Regions from separate parts of the Homo sapiens genome. Here regions 1, 2, 4, 5, 6 and 7 are each linked to region 3. Evidence: promoter capture Hi-C in 16 types of primary human blood cells and fetal thymus (Javierre and others, 2016). All regions are on one chromosome and are shown on one strand. Each heading gives the region's core, a stretch centred on a gene start or on the middle of the fragment in contact. The rest is flanking DNA. Distances are from core to core; before and after follow the strand shown. Region 1 has its middle 130 kb from the start of LINC01695. Region 2 has its middle 96 kb from the start of LINC00161. Region 3 holds the start of ADAMTS1 (ADAM metallopeptidase with thrombospondin type 1 motif 1). Region 4 has its middle 55 kb from the start of LINC00161. Region 5 has its middle 130 kb from the start of LINC00161. Region 6 has its middle 12 kb from the start of LINC00161. Region 7 has its middle 150 kb from the start of LINC00161.

Evidence for each region. Contacts are between HindIII fragments. The CHiCAGO score rates a contact against its expected background, and 5 or more counts as called.
Region 1: a contact is called between a fragment that was not itself captured here and the fragment with the promoter of ADAMTS1 in region 3, in 4 of 17 cell types (M0 macrophages, M1 macrophages, M2 macrophages and 1 more). The highest score is 11.3, in M0 macrophages.
Region 2: a fragment that was not itself captured here is called in contact with the fragment with the promoter of ADAMTS1 in region 3 in 3 of 17 cell types (endothelial precursors, megakaryocytes and total B cells); the score reaches 16.4 in endothelial precursors.
Region 4: a fragment that was not itself captured here is called in contact with the fragment with the promoter of ADAMTS1 in region 3 in 1 of 17 cell types (erythroblasts); the score reaches 6.0 in erythroblasts.
Region 5: a contact is called between a fragment that was not itself captured here and the fragment with the promoter of ADAMTS1 in region 3, in 2 of 17 cell types (M1 macrophages and erythroblasts). The highest score is 6.2, in M1 macrophages.
Region 6: a contact is called between a fragment that was not itself captured here and the fragment with the promoter of ADAMTS1 in region 3, in 1 of 17 cell types (erythroblasts). The highest score is 5.1, in erythroblasts.
Region 7: a contact is called between a fragment that was not itself captured here and the fragment with the promoter of ADAMTS1 in region 3, in 1 of 17 cell types (M0 macrophages). The highest score is 5.1, in M0 macrophages.

The regions. Positions count from the first base shown.
Region 1 is chr21:28,355,524-28,358,223 of GRCh38, reverse strand. No RefSeq gene overlaps it. Among named protein-coding and RNA genes, the nearest start is that of LINC01695, 130 kb to the right of the region's middle. The HindIII fragment of the contact is 225 bases long and covers 1,201-1,425 here.
Region 2 is chr21:28,634,280-28,637,023 of GRCh38, reverse strand. It overlaps a transcript of HEMK2 not described here. Among named protein-coding and RNA genes, the nearest start is that of LINC00161, 96 kb to the right of the region's middle. The HindIII fragment of the contact is 2,848 bases long and covers 53-2,744 here.
Region 3 is chr21:26,844,008-26,846,707 of GRCh38, reverse strand. ADAMTS1 (ADAM metallopeptidase with thrombospondin type 1 motif 1) reads left to right here and starts at 1,299. Exons shown (of 9, transcript NM_006988.5): 1 at 1,299-2,483. The coding sequence starts at 1,754. RefSeq lists enhancers at 1-514, 515-1,115. The HindIII fragment of the contact is 3,865 bases long and covers 706-2,700 here.
Region 4 is chr21:28,483,159-28,485,858 of GRCh38, reverse strand. No RefSeq gene overlaps it. Among named protein-coding and RNA genes, the nearest start is that of LINC00161, 55 kb to the left of the region's middle. The HindIII fragment of the contact is 1,531 bases long and covers 553-2,083 here.
Region 5 is chr21:28,411,296-28,413,995 of GRCh38, reverse strand. No RefSeq gene overlaps it. Among named protein-coding and RNA genes, the nearest start is that of LINC00161, 130 kb to the left of the region's middle. The HindIII fragment of the contact is 2,102 bases long and covers 233-2,334 here.
Region 6 is chr21:28,550,286-28,552,985 of GRCh38, reverse strand. No RefSeq gene overlaps it. Among named protein-coding and RNA genes, the nearest start is that of LINC00161, 12 kb to the right of the region's middle. The HindIII fragment of the contact is 2,651 bases long and covers 88-2,700 here.
Region 7 is chr21:28,385,724-28,388,469 of GRCh38, reverse strand. No RefSeq gene overlaps it. Among named protein-coding and RNA genes, the nearest start is that of LINC00161, 150 kb to the left of the region's middle. The HindIII fragment of the contact is 833 bases long and covers 915-1,747 here.

The sequences.
Region 1 (2,700 bases), core at 64-2,563, 1.5 Mb before region 3:
TCATACATTTTTGTTTTTCAGCTAATGGCAGTTTAGGGATAGTAATAGCCAGTACATATGTAGAGCTTCCCATGGGCCAGGCACAGTGTAAGTGTTTCACGCACATTGAGTCATTCAATCCTTTCAACTGGAGCTATTATTACCATTTTACAGAGGGAAAGTAGAGGAACAGAACTAAGTAATTCAACCAAGATCATACCACTAAATAGGAGTAAGGATTTAAACCCAAGAATATAAACACCGTGCTCTTAACCATTACGCAAGGCTGCCTCTCACACACATTTTATGCCAAGTAACTCCTGATCTCTGAGATACACAGGAGACATTAAGTGAAGTAGTGAGAGCAGTCTTGAGGAGTCAGAGGAATTTTTTTCTAGAAAGTTCTGAGTCTTCTAATAAAGAGTTACATGTTATTATAATGTATCTATAATTCATTTCAGATTCAGCCTGTTCATTTTAGTCTTTCAATCTTGGCTGCACACTAGAATCTCCTGGGGAGCAATACAAAATACCAAGGCTTGGCTCTACTTCAGGCCAATTAAGCCAGAATCTCTGGGGATGGGCCCTGGATGTAGGTATTTGGTGAGAGCTCTCTGGGTGACATTAGCATGCCGCCAGGGTTGAGAACCCACCATGGGCTTTAACGTGCCTCATAGATGTGGTGGCAAGACTGCACATAATTCACTGCATTAGGCATTAGAGATGAGAACACTTTCAATTACCTGATTATTAATGAAGACTGGGAAACTGGGTGCACTTGGATAAATGCTTTTATATTTTGGATTCACTGGTAAATCTCTGAGTGCCTTTTGATACCTTTAGCATTTTCCAGAGCCAGCAGTCTGAGACTATTAACATGGCTTGAACATCAGTGAGCCAGCTCCATGGAAAGAGATGGGAGAAATTCCTTTCTGGTGTTAATTCCAAATCTTACATTGCCTGCCAACCTAGAAGTAAAGGCAATCTGTGTGTGGCTATTCCATTGGATTTTCTTCTCCTGTTATGCACCAGCCTGTTTCTACTCAACATGCTGCATGATCTGTTTCCTTTTATTTAAGAAAGAAAAGTCTTCCAATTCATAAGAAAAAGCACAAGGACTTGTGCACATTCCCAGCATTCTGATTATAGGTATGACACTGAACAGATTGACAGACTGTATTTCACTTCAAGCTATCTGAACGTCTAGTATGGCCATAAGCTTGAGCATTTTTTTTCAATGATGGAATAAGCCTCAAGTAGTCCAGCCCTGCAGGACTTATGTTAAAACCGTTAGGGCTCATTAGCACAGTACAGCAAACTTGTCAGATATAACACACACACACACACACACACACACACACACACACACACACAGTGAAAGAGTTCAGCTGGAGGAGTCCTCTTGTTTATTAATAGCAATGAAAGGAATCATTGCATATGAAAGCTTAAAAATACAATATTTTTGTGAATTCAGTGTCATTGCATTTATTAATTCTGGGAGAAAGAAACACAGGGAGGTGGTATGTGATGATAAACAGTGTTACTTTCTTTCATCATTTCTAATCATGAATCATAGAACCTTGTTGTAGCTGGTTGGCAGACTGGGAATCTATGTAAATTCCAGAGGCGTGCCTTGCCTTTATCCTTGGAGATGCCCTAAAGTGAGGAGTTTCATTTGACAGCATCCTGGACTGTTGACGAAACTAAGAAAAAGAGTTGACAAGATGATCTAATAGACCTTTTATGTTTCCTACTCCTTTTATTTGGTGGAAATAGCAAGCATGCCTTCAGAAATGGACCCTGTCTTTCAATGGGTGAATAGAAGATGCCCATATTTGTGCACTCTTACTCTACATATCCTTTTGTGTGTGAATTTCCATCATTGTGGACCAGTAGAAAAGTCAAAGAACAGCAGAAATGCTGGGAATCTGGCCAGAAGTTAAATGTGCTCATAATAGGTCTTGGAGATGGAAGCGTTGACCGCTGTAGAATTCTTTCTTTGAATGGGAAGCTATATTTGGGCCAAAAGGTTTATCTTCCAGGCTCTCCTCATCTCTCGATACCTTTTTCCCTGGCCTTCTTTGGAATGGACCTCTTCTTTTATGCGCATCAGCCTTTGGCATTTTCCAGAATACAAAGATCATAACTATAATTGGGACAACATTCACTGTAAAGCGGGGTGGGGATGACACATCAGAGTTGTTTGTTGACATTTAGATAGAAGGACAGTTAGATGTTCCATGACTTTGTTGTTGTTTTTGTTGTCCCTATTACTCTAATTCTAGAATGAAGACAAGACTGGTTCTCACCGTTGTCCTCAATGGTGAGATATGCGTGAGGTTATGTGAAAAGAATAATAAGATGCATGATAAGGTTCTAGCCACACTGTGGCTACATAAAATTAATCAATCCAACAGAGCTGGCTTGTGTGATGGCTCCCAGAATGTGGTCAGTAGGCATGACTCTATTTTTCTTTTGTATTACATATTCTCAATTTCTATTCCTCTTTTAACACGCTTATGGCAAGTTCTTTTTTTTTTTTTTACTTTTATTTTAAGTTCAGGGGTACCAGCGTAGCTTTGTTACATAGGTAAAGCTGGTCATGGGCATTTGTTGTACCGATTATTTCATTGCCCAGGTATTAAGCCTAGCACCCATTAGTTGTTTGTCCTGATCCTCTCCCTCCTCCCACTCTTCACCCTCAGAAAGGCCCCAGTGTGT
Region 2 (2,744 bases), core at 227-2,726, 1.8 Mb before region 3:
CCACTTGCTTTTAGACATTATCGGATAATCATTATGTCATACTTTTAAAGCTTGTTTAAGATTTCAGGTTTGTCTGTGAGGCTTCTGTCACGTGGCTTCTAAGCAAAAATGATCCCAGTTGTGATTTTGGAAATGCAGTTTTGAAAATTCTGATCACAAGCAATGCTGTATGAGGGACTCGGGTAAAAGTGATGGAGTCGTACTCTCTGCCCTGATTACAAATGAGACAGCACTTGTTTGGATCGAGCATCACAGCACAGATAATTACATAAAATGGGAATGGGAAGCAAGATGCATGTACTGTCATTCTAAGGAGATTATTTTCTTCATTGCAATATTGATTTAACTCCGGACAAAAAAGTACTCCTTTTCGTGAGTTTTGTTTGCCTGAGTCTCTCTGAACTTGGGCAGGTTTCACTTGGCAAATTACAGTGGTGCAGTGGGAGGCAGAGGTTGGACATGAGGGAATGGAAATTTGCAATTAGACAGGCATGCTTAGGGTAGTTAATTTTATGAAATGGAGGCAAAAGTAAAAGCATAATTTGGTGGATCAACGGAAAGCCAAGTTTGATGGTTTTACGTTAAAAAGTGATAAGATGTCTGTTTTTGTCCATCAAGGCTCCATTTTCAGCTCAGACAACAATAAAGCAGTTGCTAGCTCTACAAAAGAGGGCAAAATAGAACCCGTGTCCTAACTGGAGAACATGGGGTGGCCATGTGCGGAAAGCTGCATGTAACCTGTGGCTAGAGAATAGTGTCTGGCATCAAGCAAGTACAACAAGTAGGCAAAAGGGATAAAAAGTTACAGGATGAACCATTATTAGTGGGGTATTTTGAAGGCAAAATTTCCTTGTACTGAAGATACTCAATGTACCAAAAAAGGCAACTTATTTTTAAAGAAGATAGTAATAAAGGTCCCGAATGAAGGAACTACAACCACTGTAGGCAAGTGTGGAACAAGCACAGTGTGGATAAGGGTCTCTACTAGTTTCTTCAGTGGAACTGGCCCTTTAATAAAGCAATGCAACGGGGTGGTCTATGCATGTGTTGTCCAATAGCCACCAGCCACCTGTGGCTATTTAAATTTAAATTAATTAAAATGAGATGAAATAAAATATTCTATTCCTCAAGCATATTTACCACATTTTAAGGGCTCAATTACTACACGTGCCCAGGGCCTAGCATACTGGGCAGCACAGACAAATCAGTTCCATTATTGTAGAAAGTTCTATTAGACAGCACTGAAAGAGCATTGTCTTGGGAGCCTGGGAGTGAATCATGAGTCTGCAACTTAGTAATGGAGTGGCCACTGTTTCCTCATATTTAAAATAGGGCTAGGTGATATAGTACCTACCTCCTGGAGCTATTATGAGGATTAAATAAATGAGTTATTTTTAAATAAGATGTGTAGAACCATGCTTGGTACACAGTAGTGTAGTATCAGTAGTTTTTAAATGAATGGAGCCTGCTGCCTATATTCTATAGTTTGTATATATTTAAGCTCATGTTAATTTTTAGTGGTAATGATGACTAACATTAATTGTACACTTAATCCTTGTGGGCTTGATGTTTTACTTCCTTTGATTTAAGTGCCATTAAAATCTCATGAGGAAGACTTGATTATTACTTAATAGATGAGGATACCTGTAATCCCAGCACTTTGGGAGTCCGAGGTGGGCAGATCACGAGGTCAGGAGGTGGAGACCAGCCTGGCCAACATGGTGAAACCCTGTCTTTACTAAAAAATACAAAAATTAGCTGGGTGTGGTGGCAGGCACCCGTAATGCCAGCTAGCTTGGGAGGCTCAGGCAGGAGAATCACTTGAAACCGGAAGGTGGAGGTTGCAGTGAGCCGAGATGGCACTACTGCATGCCAGCCTGGGAGAAAGAGCGAAACTCCATCTAAAGAAAAAAAAAAAAAAAGATGAGGACATTAAACACATAGATCATAGATCATTCAGAGTTAATTTTGAACTTTGCTGACTTTTAACTGCTATAGCATTTACCTGCGTGATAAACTACCAGACTCCCAAGTCTATGCTATATTGTTTTTTATCCTTTAAACTAAATGTAACACATGTCTTTCCTGGCTTTAACTCTGAGTTAAAGAAATGTTCAAGAATACCTGGTGTAATAGTAACAGCTAACCTTCACAAGCACTTAACATATGCATCACATAGCACGTAATATGTGTCAGTCACTGAGCTAGAAACTTTATATGCAGTATATTAATTAATTTTATCCTTATAATACGTCTATAAGTTACAAACTTGTATTACCCCATTTTATAAATGAGCAAATTTAAGCTCAGAGAGGTTCGGTAAATTGTCTAAGTTCATATAACCAGTAAGTCACACAACTACCCCAAGGACTCAAATCCTATTTCTAATGTCTGTTTTCATAAGCCCTGTGCATACTGTCTTTCAGTAGAGAGTACAAGAATACACAGGTAGTTGACCTAGGGGGATGCTGCCTGACTAGTGCAAATACTGGTGCTCAGAATAGACAAAGTCAAGGAACTTCACTTAATAGCTACTTATCTACTTAAACAAGGCTATTTTTGTCCTGTGCTATGCGTGCATATCCTGACTCGCCCTTTCCTTGGGGAAAATTGGGAGAAAATAGTACATACATGGAAATGTACTGTTAGCTACTGCGACAGATTTGGCAAGGGCTGTGGACCACAGCCTCTCAGCAAAGGAGGAGAGCATCCCTGCCAGCAAATACCTGCTTCCCAAGCTCAGT
Region 3 (2,700 bases), core at 50-2,549:
GGAGTGGGGCGGAAAGGCGGAGACCAGTTCGAGCACTAACGCGGGGGCGCGCGAGTGTGAGGGTTGCGGGTCCGCCCGGGGCTAGGGCGGTCGCTCTCGCCATTGTCCCCGCGGCTTTCCGCCTGTGAAACACGTCCTTCCTCTGGGTCCTTGAGCCCCTCCCACTTTTTGGAGAGAAGAGCCACTCAGTTTTTTTTCCTAAGGACCTGTTGGTGGACCTCTCCTCGCTTTCGTAACGCGGATATAGCCTTTTCCCTTCCTGGTAGGAAGAGGAAGGAGGGGTCCGGGAAGGAAGCCGATTTCCTTCTTTCCCCCTCTGCACGCTTGCTAGCCCCAGCGATCGCTGCTGGCCCCCGGGTAGGAAAGTGGGGTTCCTGGCCGTTTCTGCGACGCTGGCCTAGGGCTTGCAGCTGCTGTTGAGTGAAAGCACGCAGACTGGCGGGAGCCGATCATTTCTCGAATGAAGAAGAAAAAGCGCAATTCCCTCCTTATGCTCTAGGGAATTGAGCCGCGTCCCAGATCACCCATTCCAGAAATGTGAAACCGGGCCCTCACAAAGTCGTCTCTGGTGAAGAGGTGGCGTGCGGGGTGGGGGTTGGTGGAGGGTGAAGGCATAAGCAAACATATTTTAAAATCCAGATCGTAGGAAGTGTCACCTGGCCCCTCACCCAGGCATGCTTTCTGGGGGAAGCGCAGGGCCAAGCTTTCCCTAGAAAAGCTGGGGCGAAGAGAGAGCAGGCGGCGGCTAAGGAGCTCCTGGCAGGCTGGGAAGGTGGAGAAGTGGGGTGAGGTATTTTTCTAGAAAGTGTAGCCCTAGCTCATCTCCTAGATTGGGGAAGAGGGAACTGAGGGAGGAGGGAAGGAGACCCAGGGCAGCTCCAGGATAGGGAAATGTTGAAGAAGGGACTGCGTTCTCCAACCGAACCCTCCCTCCTGGGAACCGCAGCCCAGCGCGGTAACTGAGTTACCGCAACCGGGCGGTGGGGAGGAAGGGTGGTCCAGGAAACCGGCGAGGGAGAAAAGCGGTGGAAGGGAGAGTCTTCTCCCTGGAGCGGCCCCAGCAGTACAAAGTGCTGGTCACAGCGCCCCTTCCGCCCCTAGATTGACGAGCAGTGGCGTGGAGCCAGCGCGGAGGCTGCCCCCTCCCCCTCCCGAGCCCGCAGCGCGGAGCGCGGTTTAGCACCAACGGAGCCGGGGGCGGCGTCTTTGGGATGGAAAAGGGCCAAAGGGGAGGAGTGGGGTGGGGGTGGGGGTTTCACTGGTCCACTATAAAAGGACCGCTCGGCTGCCCGGTTCTTGCACTCGCTGGAAAGCGGCTCCGAGCCAGGGGCTATTGCAAAGCCAGGGTGCGCTACCGGACGGAGAGGGGAGAGCCCTGAGCAGAGTGAGCAACATCGCAGCCAAGGCGGAGGCCGAAGAGGGGCGCCAGGCACCAATCTCCGCGTTGCCTCAGCCCCGGAGGCGCCCCAGAGCGCTTCTTGTCCCAGCAGAGCCACTCTGCCTGCGCCTGCCTCTCAGTGTCTCCAACTTTGCGCTGGAAGAAAAACTTCCCGCGCGCCGGCAGAACTGCAGCGCCTCCTTTTAGTGACTCCGGGAGCTTCGGCTGTAGCCGGCTCTGCGCGCCCTTCCAACGAATAATAGAAATTGTTAATTTTAACAATCCAGAGCAGGCCAACGAGGCTTTGCTCTCCCGACCCGAACTAAAGGTCCCTCGCTCCGTGCGCTGCTACGAGCGGTGTCTCCTGGGGCTCCAATGCAGCGAGCTGTGCCCGAGGGGTTCGGAAGGCGCAAGCTGGGCAGCGACATGGGGAACGCGGAGCGGGCTCCGGGGTCTCGGAGCTTTGGGCCAGTACCCACGCTGCTGCTGCTCGCCGCGGCGCTACTGGCCGTGTCGGACGCACTCGGGCGCCCCTCCGAGGAGGACGAGGAGCTAGTGGTGCCGGAGCTGGAGCGCGCCCCGGGACACGGGACCACGCGCCTCCGCCTGCACGCCTTTGACCAGCAGCTGGATCTGGAGCTGCGGCCCGACAGCAGCTTTTTGGCGCCCGGCTTCACGCTCCAGAACGTGGGGCGCAAATCCGGGTCCGAGACGCCGCTTCCGGAAACCGACCTGGCGCACTGCTTCTACTCCGGCACCGTGAATGGCGATCCCAGCTCGGCTGCCGCCCTCAGCCTCTGCGAGGGCGTGCGCGGCGCCTTCTACCTGCTGGGGGAGGCGTATTTCATCCAGCCGCTGCCCGCCGCCAGCGAGCGCCTCGCCACCGCCGCCCCAGGGGAGAAGCCGCCGGCACCACTACAGTTCCACCTCCTGCGGCGGAATCGGCAGGGCGACGTCGGCGGCACGTGCGGGGTCGTGGACGACGAGCCCCGGCCGACTGGGAAAGCGGAGACCGAAGACGAGGACGAAGGGACTGAGGGCGAGGACGAAGGGGCTCAGTGGTCGCCGCAGGACCCGGCACTGCAAGGCGTAGGACAGCCCACAGGTAGAAGAATTGCTCTCGTTTGTCTGTCCATTCATCCTCCTCTCCTCACTTTATCTATCCCACGCGACTTCAGGGTAGACTCCTGCTGGCAGGCAGGATCATAAGTCCGCGGACAGAACGGAGGCCTGGAGTGGAGGAATGTGGTTTGAGGTTTGGATTGGTGAACTCAGCTAGAAAACATACTTGCATTTGCCCGAATAATGAATAACCAAGAAAA
Region 4 (2,700 bases), core at 69-2,568, 1.6 Mb before region 3:
AGAGAAGGAATGATTGGTGGTATGAAGCAATGCCAGAAAAATCACAAAACCCATAGCTCTGTTTTTAACATTTGTGAAAGTGTTACGTGTATAATTTTGCTTCACGAAAAGGGAGGGAGGGAAACAGGAAGGGAGGCAAAGAGAACAAACTGGCTTAATAATAATGGTGCACTGCACAGTATAATGAAGGGGAGGTGGTGATGTTCCAGGCTGCTCTGAAGAGTCCATTTAGAGTGGGATGTCTACTTTAACACTATGACATATGAAGTAAGTACATCATATGGTTTTGTCTGACGTAATTTTCCCTGCTTTATTCCAATTGTCTAGAGAGCATAGAATGAGATGGTGTCAAGTCATAAACCCACAGTTATGTAAGAACATTTAGCCAAGGGAAGGTTGGCAGCTTGGAAGCTTGTTTTATAACACATACTGGGTTCAACTCTGCCTTTCTGAGAAAGTTTCTTCAATATTGAATCTGGGTTTCCCTGGGATATGAAATCTCAACAGTAGAGTACACACATGAGCTGTGGTCAAACTCTTGACAATAAAGCTTTGAGGGGAAGACAGTGGCCATCTTGAAACTGATTTTAGTCCCAATAGTTGCTAGGGAGGAATTCTGTCATGTACAAAGAGACACCTTAACAGACTGGCTGCATGAATTGACATGTGATTGATTCTTGTCAATCATTTCAGCCACAGTCTTTCATTTAAAATGCGTTATTTAATCTAATCTTCTCTTACTATTTGAATTGAATTCTTTCGAATAATAACAGAAGTCAATCTAGTGTGTTTTTTTTTTTTTTTTTTTGTGACGGAGTCTCACTCTGTTGCCCAGGCTGGAGTGCGGTGGTGTGATCTCGGCTCACTGCGAGCTCTGCCTCCCGAGTTCACGCCATTCTCCTGCCTCAGCCTCCTGAGTAGCTGGGACTACAGGCGCCCACTACCACGCCCGGCTAACTTTTTGTATTTTTAGTAGAGACGGGGTTTCACGGTGTTAGCCAGGATGGTCTCAATCTCCTGACTTCGTGATCCGCCCGCCTTGGCCTCCCAAAGTGCTGGGATTACAGGCGTGAGCCACCGCGCCCAGCCGTCAATCTAGTTTTAATATGGGAAATCCAGACCCAATGTTTGAAGACATTTATCTTCTTTTCTCCAAAACATATATGTATATGAATTAAAATGTCTATCAATAAAAGGAAACAATGATTGGTTCCAACAATCAATAAAATTGCAATTCAGAAGAAGTAAAGGTCATGGAAGGCTGTAGTTTTTGTATTAGGCTTTGAGAAATGACAAGCAGACAGGAAGAAACAGGGCAAAGGTATCTGTGACCTTAAATTCTGATTTATTTCAAGTTTAGCTGACTTCGGAGCCTGATTCAATTCTTCCTATTCTACATTTGTCCCACAAATGTTTCCTGTATTTAAAAAAAATGGAAAACATCTTGTCTGTATATGTGTAGGAGAGGGTGGTGGAAGATAGCATTTCCAGAGGGTTTTTCTTTTCTGTCTTTCAGTATTTTGCAATCCATGTTATAGTTATTGAGTGTTGATGTGCCAATCTCATTTACTCTCAAAGTAGGGCTATTTAGAATGCTGATCTTCACATTTAGACAGATTTTTTTGGGCCACCCCACTTTGTGATTCCAAGACGCAACAATTCCAAATAAATGCATATGCAATAATTTTAGAAAACTGTTTTCAGCAATCACCTAATCTATAAAACAGATCCTTTTTTTCTGTCACAAGTTTCCTATTGAATTATGTTTTCAAATCTTTCATCTCAAGGGAATATTTTAATTACTTCAAAGTTGAAAAGTGTGGAATTTAAAATGGATTGATGATTTGATTTGTCAGAGTTTAATAAAGGGTTCCATATGACTCATTGCATTGTTTTATTGTTTGAGAGATTTAAACTTAAGAATTTGGAGAAAAACTAGAGATCTGAATTATTTCCAGGCAAAGATTCAGATTTTCTCTTGTTACTCTATTATATTGACTTTTGGAATGTGATGGCCATACATGGGAAAAGAAAAAGATACGGATATCTGACCTCCTGACCTCAGGCCCCTGGAGGACAAGCTTGTCATGGTTTAGGACTTCCCCTTTGTAAGCACTCCTAACTCAATACTTTTGGAAAAAAAAATTAGGACAAAATTTACTTAATAGGAATTACCAAACTGGCTTTGTAAGAGGCATGTTATGAGGACAAGCTCGATATGGTTTAGGACTTCCCCTTTGTAAGCACTCCTAACTCAATACTTTTGGAAAAAAAATATAATAGGACAAAATTTACTTAATAGGAATTACTAAACTGGCTTTGTAACAGGCATGTTATGACCAAGAGTTTTGCTCTGCCCCCAGCCCTCCCTGGAGGCCCCTGGTTATTCAGCCACCAAAGAAGGATGCAGGGAATACTTCTCCCTTCTCCTGGGCCTGCCCACACCACTTCTGCTACTGTCCTTTGTCACACACGTGTCTCTTAGATTCCCTTTGGTTTTGAAACCACTTTTAGCTTTTCTTTCCTAAAGCCATCCTGAGTCTCCTTCTGATGCCTGTTTCTTAGCCATTCCAGGTACCTGCATATTTCTTCAGTATATCCTTAGTCTTAGCTGGTGAACACATTCACTTTCTGCCTAGAGGCACACATTTTTCCCTCTTCTATGCACCTTCTGGAGCCTCCAGCCCCCGAAACAGGATT
Region 5 (2,700 bases), core at 34-2,533, 1.6 Mb before region 3:
AAAAAAAAAAAAAAAGAAAAATGCCATGAACGCTATTCCTGTGCATTTTATTTATATTTGCTAACTGCAAAGAGTGCATAAGTGCAACATCACACAGGGATAATCTCATCTGGTTTTGAAACATGGGTTTTTCTCACTCCACTCAAAATTAACTTGTAGAGTAAAAGGGTAACATTTTAGCTAAAAATCAATAAAGTGAAAATTAAAACATTCCAAAACAAACATAAAAGCTTCTTGAAGTATATTAAAAGAGTCAAGAAATACTAGTTTTATTTGATAGGAGTTGGAAATATTTACATGAAGTACTGGAAAATGGTAAGAATCTATCCGTATTAGTCAGCATGAAGAGCAGGTTACTTAATTCAAATGCCCCAAATGGTCTTTAGTAGAAAGAATCAGTAGCACAATTCCTCAACATGGCAAGGATTCATGATATGCAGCCTAGCTAAAAATAAAGAATTCACACTGCTTCCTCTTGTGTTGGGACAGAGATTATTTTCTATAAAGGAACAATTTATTAGTTGGATCAATGCTGGGTTAAGCAGACACAGAAATCTTTGGTTGACTATGGGCACACAGGGAAAGTTAGTGAACATTATCTTTAAATTTCCATTCTCTCTTCAGAATAAAATGTGGAATTGGTATTTTTCTTCCATTTGAAGTCACTTGTGACATAACACTCCTGTTCTCTCCACCTCCACTTAAAAAAAAAATCTCTATTTTTGTTAACGTGCTTCTCGGCCAGGAAAAATGACATTAGGAAAAACATTATACATGTTATGGAAAGGGCAGAAATAAAAGTCTCAAAGTGAAATATTCTTAATGAAAAAAAGTTATTTCATAGCTCTTTGATGATAAAAAATACCACCCAATTTTTTGAAAACTTTTGTATTTAATTTTACTCCCCACCACCTTTTAGGGGAGTTGGAATACCGATTTCTTTGATGGACAGATTTAATACAAATTACTGTTACTCAGATCTAGGAAATTTGTTCCCTATAGTAGAGAACCCAAATGTGTTCATAATGAACATATTTTTAGATATGAAGAAGAGGAGTAGGTCAATTTTCTTTTTCTTTTGACAGTAAATATTTGGTTACCCTTGCTTCTCAAATGAAAAAGTACTTTAAAACATTTAAAATCATTTTCCACCTATGATGTCTGAAATGTGTCCACATATGTACAGACTAAGGGTGTCTAGCATATGTTGACACATAGGCTTCATCTCATTTTCCTCCCCAAATAATTAAGGGTCACTTCAGAAGGAATGAAGTATGTATTCTTTTGAAATTTCATCTGCCCTGACATGCCAAAAAAAAAATAAAATAAAATTCCCAAAACTTTTCAAAGTACAATTGTAGCTAAACCATTTGGTATTAGTTATAATGATGCTTACTAAATTGAACCTCAGTTCCCAAGTTATTCTTAAGTATTTAAAAATTCAGATTGAAGATAGAGACATATTTTTAATAATTTGTTTAGTCTAGTAATTATCATCAACTTTTAACTTGGGCCGAACCAGCTCTCTCTGTGATTGGTGTCCTTATTATCTGTTATTACATTGTTATTAAACAGACATGTTCTCATAGGAAATGCTAGGGCAAGTTACCCCGGGCCTTTGAATCAGGATGTCTGTTTAACGGTTTAGTCATGTAACTGGATTTGAGGGTGCTTGGCAGAGTCCAGCTTTTTATCTGGCCCTTTTGGAGTGGATAATGGTGAGGGTTCCTGTGAAAAGAAATGGTCACTTAGAACATTCCAGAGCTGTCTTTTCCTTTTCTGAAAGGGGCAAAGACTTGTGAAATAAGCTGTCAGCTTTTTGGGGCTTCTCTATTGCTGACTAGCTCTCTGCGTACCCGATCACTTCTCTTGAACTCTTAACACCTCTGATGAAGTCTGTGGGTCCCAGCTCTTGGTGCCTCAGTTCAGCCAAATAGCTACAAATGTCCAGTCTGGGCAAGGTATTTTTCTAAAAGCAATAGGAAGTTGTGACCTCAGCTACCTTACTGTTGGGAGATGGTGGGGGGAAGGAGTGGGCAAAAGCACATTCAAAACCACTGTAATAACAGATCTCCCAAGTACCATCTGCGAAGTGGAACCTGAGGAAGAGTTTAACGGAGGAATTGACACTGGAGAAGGATTTTGACAAAGACCAAGTAGAAAGTCTTCTAGGCAGAGCCAACATTTGGTTTTAGTTTCCTACCAACTGGCTCCAAGTTACATTTCCAGTATTTGTATTTACTATTTAACCTTTCATTTAGTCCAAACTTATGCACATACATGGGTTAAGAATTATTTAGTTCTAGGGGAAATGCAATAGTCACGTAAGAAGCTTACAGTCTAACAGAGGAGAAAATCCTGGTTTCAATGGGAAATTCTTAGAGAATAAGCTTTAAATTGGGAGATCTCCATTGTAAACTGAGGTATTGTTTCAAGTATTGAAAGTACTGGATTTGAGATGAGTGGAGATGGACATGCCAAGGAATCAGTTACACACCTAAGACTAGAGAACTCACCAGAGAGGCAGACCTGGCAACTGCCTGGCTTGCTTTATTCATGTTTTCATTGAACAAGGAGGTTTTGATTAAGTGTGGTGGGTTACAAATTATGCTGGGCATTGGAAGCAGAGGAAAGAGATAAATAGTGACTGTCTTTTTAAAGTATTCACAACCTGAAAGAAACAGGAGACTAAACCTCCAA
Region 6 (2,700 bases), core at 164-2,663, 1.7 Mb before region 3:
CCCTTATTTCCTATATTCTGAGTTTATATAAAACTGATTGTAAATGTTTGATAGAATCCATCAGTGAAGCCATCTTGATTTGAAGCTTTCTTGTGCCATTGTGGAAAAGTTTTAGATTATGACCTCAATTTTTTTAATGCTATTCACATTGTCTCTTTTTGTGTCACTTTTGGGGAATTGTGTTATTTCAAGAAAATTTTTGTTTCAATTATCAAATTTATTGGTATAAATTTGCTGAAAATATTTTCTTATTAGCCTTTGGATGTATGTAAGATATATAGTGATATTGTCACATTTATTTCTGATATTGGTAATTGGTTATTAATGTGTCCTTCCTTTTTAAAAGAATCTTTTTAGTCATTTATCGGTTTTTGTTAATCATTTAAATCCATTTGTGTTTTGGTTTTCTCTGTTGTATTTTTTCTTTTACAATAATTTTAATAATTTTTTATTATGTTCCAAATGTGAGCATCATGAATTTTGTAGCACTTATCTCTAATTCTCAAAATAGTATTTCAGGGAAAATATTACTATTATTGGTTTAAATGGATGGAAAATAAGATGCAAAGAGGTTAATTATTTTGATGTATCTTATAAATATCAAAGGCTGTATTTAAGTCTAGGACTCTCTGATCTCAAAAATGATGCCTTTTACTGCAACATAGTGTTTCACTGCAAAATTGCCGAGTGTTTGAATGCATGAATTATGATTCTAAGTCCACTTCTGGCCATACCACTAATCAACACCACTAAATTTATTAACATCAGTATATTAGGGATACCTTATTTGCATGACTATAAAGGCTAGTTTTGGTAGGATAATAGAACCAACATAGGCACTAATCATATCTACAAACAATATGTTGTTGTTTTATAATTTGTGTGCAAGCCATCTTATCAAGGATGTGAACAGAAAAATTCCTGGAGGAACTAATCAGAATACAGGGGTATAAGATCTCTTTTTTCTTACACTCCATGGCAATTGCTCCCACTGAAACATGCACAGGTATGCTCTCTCTCTTCTGTCCTCCTTCCGGAAGGTCTGCTTTTTGGAATTTGCTCTCATGAGAGATTTCTTATTGGATTCAATCTAGAGCAATGGCCTAGGAAGCTACCAGGGAGAAAGCATCCATTTGATATATGGTAAAAAGGGCCCCAAGTCATTATCCCCCCAAGACACTGCTATCTGCTGTGGTCTCAATGTTTGTTCCCCCAAATTTATATGTTGAAATCCTAATCCCCAAGGTGATGATATTAGGACTGGGAGGAGGGGGGGCGCTGTGGGAGGTGATTAGGTCATGGGTACATAGCTTTTATGAATGGGATCAATGCCCTTATAAAAGAGGTCTGAGACAGACCCCTCACCCTTTTAACCAGGTGAAGACACAGTAAGAAGATGCTGTGTGTGTTAGTCTATTTTCACATTGCTATAAAGAACTACCTGAGACTGGGTAATTTATAAACAAAAGAGGTTTGACTCACATTTCCGCATGGCTGGGGAAGCCTCAGGAAACTTACAATCATGGCAGAAGGTGAAGGGGAAGCCGGCACCTTCTTCACAAGGCAGCAGGAGAGAGAGTGAGTGATAGAGGAGCTGCTAAATACTTTTAAACAATCAGATCTTGTGAGAACTCACAATCATGAGAACAGCGTGGGGAAACTGCCCCTATGATCCAATCACTTCCCACCAGTTCCCTTCCTTGGCATAGGATTACAATTTGAGATGAGATTTTGGGGGGACAGAGAACAAAACCATATTACTGTGTATGAGCCAGAAATTCAGCCTTCATCAAACACTGAATCTGCTGGCAACAGAAGGCTTTATGTTTCATAGCCTCCAGAACTTTGAGAAATAAATTTATGTTGTTTATAAGCCACTTAGTTTATGGTACTTTGTTATAGCAGCCCAAATGGCCTAAGACATTAATGGACCATGATAGGCACTCACCTAAGGGCTTTTACCTCTACCCTAAAGGAATATGCCTGTCGAGGAGAATGAATGTGTATAAATAACAACATTTGGTCCACAAAAATCAAATTTTTCTATTTTGGAGATTTGTTTGTTATGGTAGAATAATCTTGTAATAAATATAAGTAATTTGAGAAGGCTGCCTTTGATCAGTTTTCTGTTTATTACAAGGAAATCAGTAGAGTAAATGCAAAAATCAGTAGCTTACTGTAGATCTTAGACACCTACTATTTTGGTAAAAGTAAATAAATGTTACTATTAGGATAGCTTCTGTTTCTTTTTGATTATTTCAACTGCTCAGGAAGTTGTAAGTTCTTGTGTAACCCTTTGACTGCCACAGTTCCTCCCCTTCAGTGCCTGCAGTAAGAAGCATCCATCCTGAACTTTTTGACTTTTTCTTTGTCTGCTTCCTATTTTTAATAAAATGTATTTACTTGGTTTCCTATTTATATGCATTCCTGTCAAATGACAGAAGGCAATCATATAAACAAAGCTGCTTTATTTATAGCTAGAAAAATCTTAACATAGGCTCTTTATGTACCTAAATGTTAGAAAAGAAAATAATGAAAATATCATAAACCCTAGGAGGTAGCTAATTCTGTCAATATATAAGTCCATGTATAAATAGTGCATAATGTGCAAACTAGGCTTTTAAAATTAGAATTAGTCTAATGATGGTTTAACTTCCTCATCTGTGAAATTGGCATAATGATAATATCTCTCCTGTAAGT
Region 7 (2,746 bases), core at 82-2,581, 1.5 Mb before region 3:
ATTTCTCCATTTCTGAGAGGACAGGAAAGGAGAGGAGAAGCATGGGAGAAGCGAGGCAAGGTGAGAAAAGGGAGAAAAGGAGAAGAGAGGAGAGGAGATTGAGCTGCTCTTTAAAAAACAGCTATAGCATTATGCCCTTAAAGATAATTTATTCTATTAATCTCTATCTTTTCTTTCACATAAGTTTTATATCACATATAACAACAAAAAATGAAATTCAGTAAATAATTGGGTGATTCTTATATGTGGCTTCCTGTACCTGTACCTATGTACCTAACCAAGTATGAATAATTCTGACATTATCACAACAAAGCTTGATATTTGGGGGAAAAAAGTCCCTGCACTTTTAAATCAGATCAGGTACATACTGGCAAGATGGCAGACTGAGTACTGTGACTACTAAGACATAACCATCTGTTTTTAGAGATTCACACACACACACACACACACACACACACACACAAAACCTAGGTAAAAGAACTGACATTTCTAGAATGTTGAATTGTATACCAAATCCTTTGTATTTTTAGTTTTGACTTTATATCGTTGACTTTTGTCCTTTGTCAGTTTAAATTTATTCTAATGTGGGAAATAAGAGTCTTCTGTGATTGAAATCTGGCTTGCCTTTGGCTGTTTCTTGGTATTCATGCCCATGTTCTACAGGCTATGAGCAAACTGGGTCTATAATCAAGTGCCAACTTTAACCTAAAAAGAATAATAATAAAGATCTCCTAAGAGTGTAGGGATAGTTTGTAATGATTAGCTCGAGGGTCCAAAACACTTAGAATGTAGCAACCTCAGGAAATTCCTGCCATTACATGGACGTTCACTTTTCTCTAAAGAAAACAAAGAAAACAAAAAATAATTAATCCCTCTCAGGCATTAAACCAAAGATAATTCACATATTAAAAGCTTTATTTCATTACTTTCATTTGGTTTTGTTAAGGAGTAGTATATTCTGGCCCGTAGTATTACTTTGGTATTTATTCTAGTTTCTAAAGGAGGAGATGGTTCTGAGGATGCAGATGTCTAAGCAGTTAACATCACAACCTTCTTCAGTTGCCAAGGAAATAGGAAAACTTAAACTCTTCTGCAAAACTAATTTGCCAGCTGTGTGTTTCTATTTTGATTGTAACCACTTACTTTCAGTTATTGCTTTTGTCTTCACTGTGCCCACATTTCTATTTTGTTTGTTTTCAGATGTTTTATTGTTTGTCATTGATACATCTGGCTATTATAGTTCTACTGCTGTACTGTTTGTTCTTCCTGTAATTTTTAAATATATTTTTAATTGCTATGGGTACATAATAGTTGTACATATTTATGGAGTACAAGTGATGTTTTGATACAGACATACAATGTGTAGTGATCAGAACAGGGTAACTTGAGTATCCATCACCTTAAGTATTTATCATTTCTTGGAGCTAAAAAATAAATTGGACTCATGGAGATAGAGAACAGAATAAAGGTTACCACAGCCTGGGAATGGTAGCTGGGAAAGGGTGATAAAGTGAAGATGGTTAATGGGTACAAAACTACAGGTTTGTATTAATAGAATGAATAACATCTAGTATTTGGTAGCAGAATAGGGTGAGTATGATTAACAATAATTTATTGTACACCTACATCTTTTTCTGATTCAGTTTATACCCCTTGGTCTTGAATGGGATTGTAATAAGAAAGGTTTGGAAAGTACCATCTCTAATAATTTTACTTGAGTTAATTGTTTACTTGCAATAATCAAGCTTGGGAGAAAATGTGTAAGAAAATTTTGTTATGACTTTGATTTTAGTTTACAGAAGACAGGCAATTTTTCCCCAATACATTTGTGTCTATACGGTTGAGTGCTGTGTGAAATCTTATGGTGAAGTAGATGACATTTTTAAAGCTCCTTTTCAATATTCAATTTGCCTCCTCAATTCCCTAGTGGAAGTAAGATCTTTATATGGCTTAATGGGTGACCTTATTTATTAAATTAGCAAACACCGATGGCCCATCTCTGATGTATACTTATGCTATGGAAACTGCTGTGGAAAATGCAAAGAAACATGAAGGTAGTACCCTGTTGGGTGATAAGAAATGTATACTCACATAAAATGTAACTCAAGATATGATAACTCAAGATAAGATAATATCTAGTGTATGCAACTAGTTAAATGAGAAACCCTATTTCTAACTAGAGTAAACATGGATTTTTAAAATTGTGCCTTTAAAAATAGTTAGGATTTTATTTAGTAACATGGAGGTAAGGAATCTGGAAGAGGGCATCTAAGAGTGTGGAAGGGGAGCTTCAAATTTATGTGGATGGAAAAGGTATTATTTAGGAATACAGACAAAAATAGTAAGATTGGTTTAGACAGTCTGGCTTGAAAAGTAGGTCTAGGACATGTCATAGGAGACTCTAAGTACTTATCAATTATTAATCAAGCAAGCAGCATGAGTTAGTTTTCCTTTTAGAGGATTAATGTGACACCACACATAGACTATAGTAGAGCAAACCTTTTACATTGTTATCCTTTTACATTGTAACCTTTTACATTGTTGCATGTAAATTGTTTACGTTGTTAACCTTTTACATTGTAGATTCACAGCCTACTTGCATCAGAATCACTTGAGGATGCTTATTAAATGTGCAGATTGTGTACACTATTGGTTTGTCTGGGGAGGGCAATACTCTGGAAGTGATTCTTATCCACAAAAAAGCTTAGGAATGGAGATAAGGTGCTAGAAAATCAGAAAACCTATT